Linked DNA regions of Homo sapiens: region 2 is linked to region 1. The links are contacts of gene promoters, found by promoter capture Hi-C in human tissues and cell types (Jung and others, 2019). All regions are on one chromosome and are shown on one strand. Each heading gives the region's core, a stretch centred on a gene start or on the middle of the fragment in contact. The rest is flanking DNA. Distances are from core to core; before and after follow the strand shown.

Evidence for each region. Contacts are between HindIII fragments. The study calls those that stand out against the background at their distance.
Region 2: a fragment that was not itself captured here is called in contact with the fragment with the promoter of SLC23A1 in region 1 in 1 of the 25 tissues and cell types used here (adrenal gland).

The regions. Positions count from the first base shown.
Region 1 is chr5:139,381,595-139,384,963 of GRCh38, reverse strand. It overlaps SLC23A1 (solute carrier family 23 member 1), which reads left to right and starts at 1,667. Exons shown (of 15, transcript NM_005847.5): 1 at 1,667-1,746; 2 at 2,359-2,472; 3 at 2,915-3,072. The coding sequence starts at 1,711. RefSeq lists enhancers at 247-416, 797-966, 987-1,056, 2,657-2,706, 3,182-3,369 and a silencer at 2,307-2,366. The HindIII fragment of the contact is 7,898 bases long and covers 1-2,780 here.
Region 2 is chr5:139,436,378-139,439,746 of GRCh38, reverse strand. It overlaps DNAJC18 (DnaJ heat shock protein family (Hsp40) member C18), which reads left to right and starts at 222. Exons shown (of 8, transcript NM_152686.4): 1 at 222-341; 2 at 2,189-2,375. The coding sequence starts at 302. RefSeq lists enhancers at 1-351, 1,652-2,152 and a silencer at 555-664. The HindIII fragment of the contact is 5,325 bases long and covers 1-3,369 here.

The DNA of each region.
Region 1 (3,369 bases), core at 418-2,917:
GCACTCAGCCCCCTCCATCCTTCACCTGTTCCAGGACCTGCCTGAAGCCCCACCATCCGTGGCCTTCACTCAGGAGAGAAACCCTAGACACCAGGAGGAAAGTCAGGGCCCAAGAAACCCACTAAGCTTTCAGGACAGGGTGTGGAGCCGGGCACCCATGACGTGGACCTGTGTTTCTGTGGGGTGATTAGAGAGGCTGCATCAGCTCTGGGTGTGTGGGCCCCTTCATGCTACTGTGGATCTGGGACCGTGTTCTCCACCTTGTTCTCTATGCGTGTTGTGTGGTTTGGGTTGAATTGAGTGTCCATGGAGCCGTATCTGCAGGGGGTCGGGCTTGGTCTCCACAGCACCCTGGGGAGTTCTGGGAGGAGAAGTTGGAGAGAAAAGTGCTGGGGAGTTGCAGAGGCTTCAAACTGGTCCAGCAACTTTGGAAATTGGGAGCAGTAGCCAAGAGGGAGAGGAGAGGACAGGCGGACAGAGGAACAGTGTGGACACCGGCAGGCGGGCGGACTCAGTGCTGTGGCATGAAGCTGCTGCCCAGCTGGAGAGCGGTGCTGCCCCTTGGCCCTTCAGGCAGGGCCTGGCCATGGGCACAGCGACCCAGAAGTAGGTGGGCTCTAGAGTGCTGGGGCTGGGGCAGCCCAGAGGGGAACAGAATGGGGACCTCAGGCCCAGCCCTCACCAGCTGAGGAGCCTGAGTTCTTAGGGCCCCTCCCCATGTCCCCCTCTGCCATCTCAGGCCCTAGGGCCAGGCTGGGCTGGGCCTGCCAGGAGGGGAGACAGGCTGGGCATAGGACTGCCTTCCTGGGCTAGGTGATGGGCAGTCACACAGGGCTTGGTGCATAGAAAGGCCCCACGCTCCATCTAATGCTCCTGCTATCTTTAAATTCTTTATACTTTTGGAATAAAGGCCTCACATTCTTACTTTGCACTGGGTCCCAGAAATTATGTGGCTGGGAGGGGAAAGGGATCTGTGCCCTGACACAGAGTGCAGACCCGGCTGGGCCAGCCTAGGCAGCTCTGCCTGCAGAGGCCCATCTGCTGCCTGCCTCAGGGACCCTGAGGGGTGCAGGGTGGTGAGGGCAAGGCAGCTCAGACCAACCTGAATTTTAGGATTGGTTTCTGCAAACTTGCTATCTGCATGGCTTGGGTCAAATCACATCTACTGAATCTGTTTCCTTCGCTGTTAAAGGGGTTAATACCGCCCAGCACAGGGGTTACTTGGGACAGTGCAGATCCATGTTTCTTGGCACAAGGCCAAGGCCATTCCTCAATAACGAGAATGACTATGATGATGATGATAATGATGAACTAGTTATTAATCAGTGGGGAAGGGCCTCATACAGGGGGTTACATAATAAGTGCCTGTTTCCACTCCCTCTTTCTCCGCTCACCTGGGGCTTGGTAAACTTCTGGTCCTCACCCCCTCGACTCTGGCCCTCTCTTGGGAAACAAGAACAGGTCCAGCGCCCAGGCGCAGATGTGGGCAGGGAAGGGCACATGTGGCAGAGGCTTGGGTGGCTTTTACTGTCCTAGTGAGAGTTAATACATTACCTCTGCCCGGGCCCCCCTTTCGCAATCCAGAGCTGGGCATCTGGTTACAGATTTACTTCAAACAATGCCTGATATGTGGAGTAAAGTCCTCCTCCTTGGCCTTTGTCAAGTCATCCCCTCTTCTCCTCAGGAACTGCTCAAACCTGTGCCCCAAAGATGAGGGCCCAGGAGGACCTCGAGGGCCGGACACAGGTGCTGGGGGCTGGGGGTGGGGGCTAGGGGGGGCAGGGGGGGTGGGGGGCTGGAGGGCCTGTGCAGGCCTTCTTCCTGGAGGCCAGAGATAAACGTTCTGATGAACTTGATAAGAGTGACTGTCCCAAATTGAATGTGGCAACTGGGGGATGGGTGGAGGTGGGGGTGAAGGAGCCTGCAGCTTTGGGACTGGCTGACTCCAGGTTGGGGTTCAGGAGAGGCCTAATCTCCCGGCCAGTGACACCCCAAGGATCTCCAGGGGGCAGAGGTGGGACCGGATTGGACTTGTCCACAGTCTTGAGCCCTCTTGGCCCCCTCTCCTGTGGTCTCCAAGACTTCTGACTTAAGGGTCCACTTCCCTGGCTAAAATGGCAGGTCCTGAGGGCTCTAGAAGCTGGCACAGTAGACTCATCCCTGCGGGAAGCAATGCAAAGTGGGAGAAAACTGTGGCCAGGCCAAGTGGCACCCGGGTGGATGGACTGTTGGGGAGGGCGGGAACCCCGCTCTCAGTTGCTGACAAGCCACTTGGGCTGCCTGATTGATTCTGGGGCAGAATGGATTTTGCCTGTCCCCATCACTTCACCCTAAGCTACTTATCTCTGCTGCCTCCAGCATGAAACCACCAGGGACCCCTCGACCCCGCTACCCACAGAGCCTAAGTTTGACATGTTGTACAAGATCGAGGACGTGCCACCTTGGTACCTGTGCATCCTGCTGGGCTTCCAGGTGGGTCCCCCAGGGCCTCCCCGCCCTCACTCTGCACACTCCCCGGGGACTCCAGCCCCTCCCTGGCCAGCAGGGAGTATCTTGGGTAACAGGAAGAAAAACCTGAGGTCAGCACAGTGGCTGTCAGCAAGCAGGAGTCGGGAAGAGGCTGAATCCTGAAAGAAGATGAACTCCCTGGGGGAGTGTGACGCTTGCCAGGTGGGGTGTTGGTGACAGGGAGCAGAGCCGACTCCACGGAAGCCGCAGGAATATCTTGAGTGGAAATTAGTGACCCCCAGAGTGGTCAGCAGTAGCTCTCTGGGAATCCCTTGTGGGGACTGCCAGTCCTGGGCAGGCAGCCGGTTCCAGGCCCGCTGAGGCAGGCATGAGGACACTAGGTTGTCCCCTCTCCCTGGAGCTCTGGGGTCCTGCCTCATGCACTCTGCTGTCTCCCTCTGCCCAGCACTACCTGACATGCTTCAGTGGTACCATCGCCGTGCCCTTCCTGCTGGCTGAGGCGCTGTGTGTGGGCCACGACCAGCACATGGTTAGTCAGCTCATCGGCACCATCTTCACGTGCGTGGGCATCACCACTCTCATCCAGACCACCGTGGGCATCCGGTGAGCCGCCCAGCCCCCCAACCCGTCCCCCGCCACCCCTCCACTGTGATCCACACAGCAGGAGCAGGTGGGCTCCCAGAGGACACTGGTGAGACAAAAAAGCCGCTTTCTGCCTCCACCTGCTTCTCCTATCCCAGGCCAGCCTTAGAGCTGGGCAGCGTGGCCCCAACCCTGGGAATCTTGATCTAGGCACACTTCAAAGACCAGGCATCTGCAAGTTTAAGGGATTGTACCCTCGCTGGCTCTCCCCTCTTTTTTTTTTTTTTTTTTTTTTTTTGGAGACGGAGTTTTGCTCTT
Region 2 (3,369 bases), core at 292-2,791, 55 kb before region 1:
AGGGTTAGGCAGGGCCGAAGCCACTATCCCAACTCTACAAATGAGGAAAAGCCAAGAGCCGTGCTGCAGGCAGCTGGCAGCTGGCAGCAGCACTCTTCCACAGATCTCCTGACGAAGGTCGAGCACTTCTCTGCGTCTCCCACGGCCTCTGGCGCAGAGCCTGCCGGGAGTTGTAGTCCAGTGCCCCGGGAGCTCATATGGACTGGACTACAATGACCAGCGTGCCCCGCGCTCCGCGCCCCCTTCTCTTTCAGCCTCGGGCACGGGGGAGGCTCGGCGGACCTGCTGATTGGGAACCGATATGGCGGCGACTCTGGGCAGCGGGGAGCGCTGGACGGAAGGTACTAGGTCCCCGCCTGAAGGAGGGATAGGGCGGCCTTCGGGAGAGATCAGGGATGAGGATCCTGAAGACGCACAAGGGCTGAGATCCTGGGTCTGAGGTGATGGATAGAGGCCTGTGAAAAGATGCTGAGCCTGAGTAGGGTTGCGGATGGGGTAGGGAAGCTGGGGACCGACCGCGAGCCCAGAGTCACCGGTGACGACTTGTTGCCTCCGGCCCCCAGCCCCGCCCCCGCCCGTGCCCCGCCCAGGGCCCGCAGCTGTCAGGCCCCGCCCATGCCAAGGTGACTGGAGGGCCCGTGGGGTGCTGCGGTCTCTCCGCAGCTTGCTAACCTGGCCCTTATCTTTCGCCTAACTGGGCCACCTGACCTTCAGTCCCTGTTTGATCATGTCGCTCCAGCCGGCATCAGGACCAGCCTTTTCCACCCTACAGTCAGGCAAAAAATATTGATCCAATACCTATTGTGTGCCCCGCCTAATGCTGATTCTGCAGTGGGGATTTGACTGACATGGGTCCCTTAGCTCACAAAACTCGCAGCCCACTGAGAGAGTTTGACGACTGAACAGCCAATTACAAAACGGGCGAATAATACAAAACGCCTGGGCTACACAGCAAGGTCAGGGATTTGGAGAGCACACTTACAAGGTACCTAACGCAGACTGGCTGTCAAGGGAGGTTTCTTGCAGAAAGTGTTACAAATGGTGACAAGAAGGATGCGTCGGAGTTAGCCAGGCCGACTTAGAGGAAGACTGTCCAGGAGCAGTGGGTGGAGGTAGCTGAGGGATGTTAAGCGGAAGAAAGATGTTGTTAAAGCCTTTCTCAGGTCCTCCAGAGAAGACATGAGTGCTCTGCCCCTTTTGACTGTATTGCTTATGACCCTCTTTACATTCTGCAGGTGTTGTTATTGAATCTTCTCCCTTTAAACCAGGGGTATCCAATCTTTTGGCTTCCCTGGACCACATTGGAAGAAGAATTGTCTTGGGCCACACATAAAATACACTAACTGACGACTAAATAACTAACTGATGACAGCTAATGAACTTTAAAAAAATTGCAAAAAAAAATCTCATAATGTTCTTTTTTTTTTTTTTGAGACGGAGTCTCGCTCTATCACCCAGGCTGGAGTGCAGTAGCGCGATCTCGGCTCACTGCAACCTCCGCCTCCCGGGTTCACGCCATTCTCCTGCCTCAGCCTCCCGAGTAGCTGGGACTACAGGCGCCTGCCACCACGCCCGGCTAATTTGTTGTATTTTTAGTAGAGACGGAGTTTCACGGTGTTAGCCAGGATGGTCTCGATCTCCTGACCTCGTGATCCGCCCGCCTTGGCCTCCCAAAGTGCTGGGATTACAGGCGTGAGCCACCGCGCCCGGCCCTCATAATGTTCTAAGAAAGTTTACGAATTTGTATTGAGCTCAAAGCCGTGCTGGGCCACATGCCACCTGTGGGCCGCGGGTTGGACAAGCTTGCATTAAACTAACCTCTTTGTGGTCAGGAGTAGATCTTACCCATCCGCCCTCTTGATCTTCTAGCCAAGTTCCTTGGTATATATTAGTTCTATAATTGTTAGTGTAAAAGAATTGAACTCCTCTCTACTTTAAATTTTAGGGGTGGGAGGCACTGCAACAAAAAATACTATTTTACGAGCAGTGTCTCTTCTGACCACGGACCACAGAGAAACATGTTTATTCAGCTTTGTATGAGTGCTTAAAAGTCAGCATGACGCCTCTAGCCCTGGCCATCATGCTTACCTTCTCATGCTTACGAGCAGCCTCCCAGAGAGGAAAGGCAGGTTGCAAAGTTGATTTTCAGGGTCAGATGGAGACCTAATGGAGGGGCTGTTGTTTGCAGCTTACATTGACGCAGTTAGAAGAAACAAATACCCAGAAGACACACCTCCTGAGAGTCATGACCCCTGTGGCTGCTGTAACTGCATGAAGGCACAAAAGGAAAAGAAGTCTGAGAATGAGTGGACTCAGACCCGGCAGGGTGAGGGGAACTCCACGTATAGTGAGGAACAGCTGCTTGGGGTACAAAGGTGAGCATGTGGTGAGATTAAATGAGTGATTTTATGGAAAGTGCTTAGAAGAGTGCCTGGATGTGCTATGTAAGTATTGACTGATGATAATGATGATGATGATGATAATTGAGGCATACTAGCTTCTTGACCTCAGAGGGAAGACTGAATAGAAGTGGAATATTAGGGTATAACATGAACTGACTACCCTGCTTCTACTTTAAGAGAGGCAGCAGAAACCGACTAGACACAACACACATCTACAGGACATTCTTTCAACAACAACAGAACGATTTTCTTCTTAAGGATACATAGAATATTCTCCAGGATAGACCATATCTTAGGTCATAAAACAAGCCTCAATAAATTTAAAAAGATTGAAATCATACAGTGTATGTTCTCTGAAATCAAAAACAAAGGGAAATTTGAGAAATTCACAAATATGTGGAAATTAAACTACAAGCTCCTAATAAGCAAGCAAGTCACAGAATAAATCACTAGGAAAGCTAGAAAATGCTTTGAGATGAGTGAAAATGAAAACACGACGTACTAAAATGTATAGGATGCAGCTAAAACAGTGCTTAGAAGGAAATTTATAGCTCTAAATGCTTATTTTTTTAAAAAAGACTCCAAATCAGTAACCTAATCTACCTTAAGGAACTAGACAGCCTGGACAATACAGTGAAACCCCCTCTCTTCCAAAAAATATATATATACAAAAATTAGCTTGGTATGATGGCACCAACCTGTAGTCCCAGCTACTTGAGAGGCTGAGGCAGGAGGATTGCTTGAACCCAGTAGGTTGAAGCTACAGTGAGTCATAATCGCACAGCAGAGCAAGACCCTGTCTCTCAAAAAAAAAAAAAAAAAAAAAAAAGAAAGAGGGATATCCCTACCAATCCAAATACTATGAACAATTGTGTGCCAACAAATTAGATAACCTAGATAAAATCAGCAAATGCCTAGAAAGACACAAATTACTGAAACTGACCCAAGAAAAATGGAGGCCAGGCAT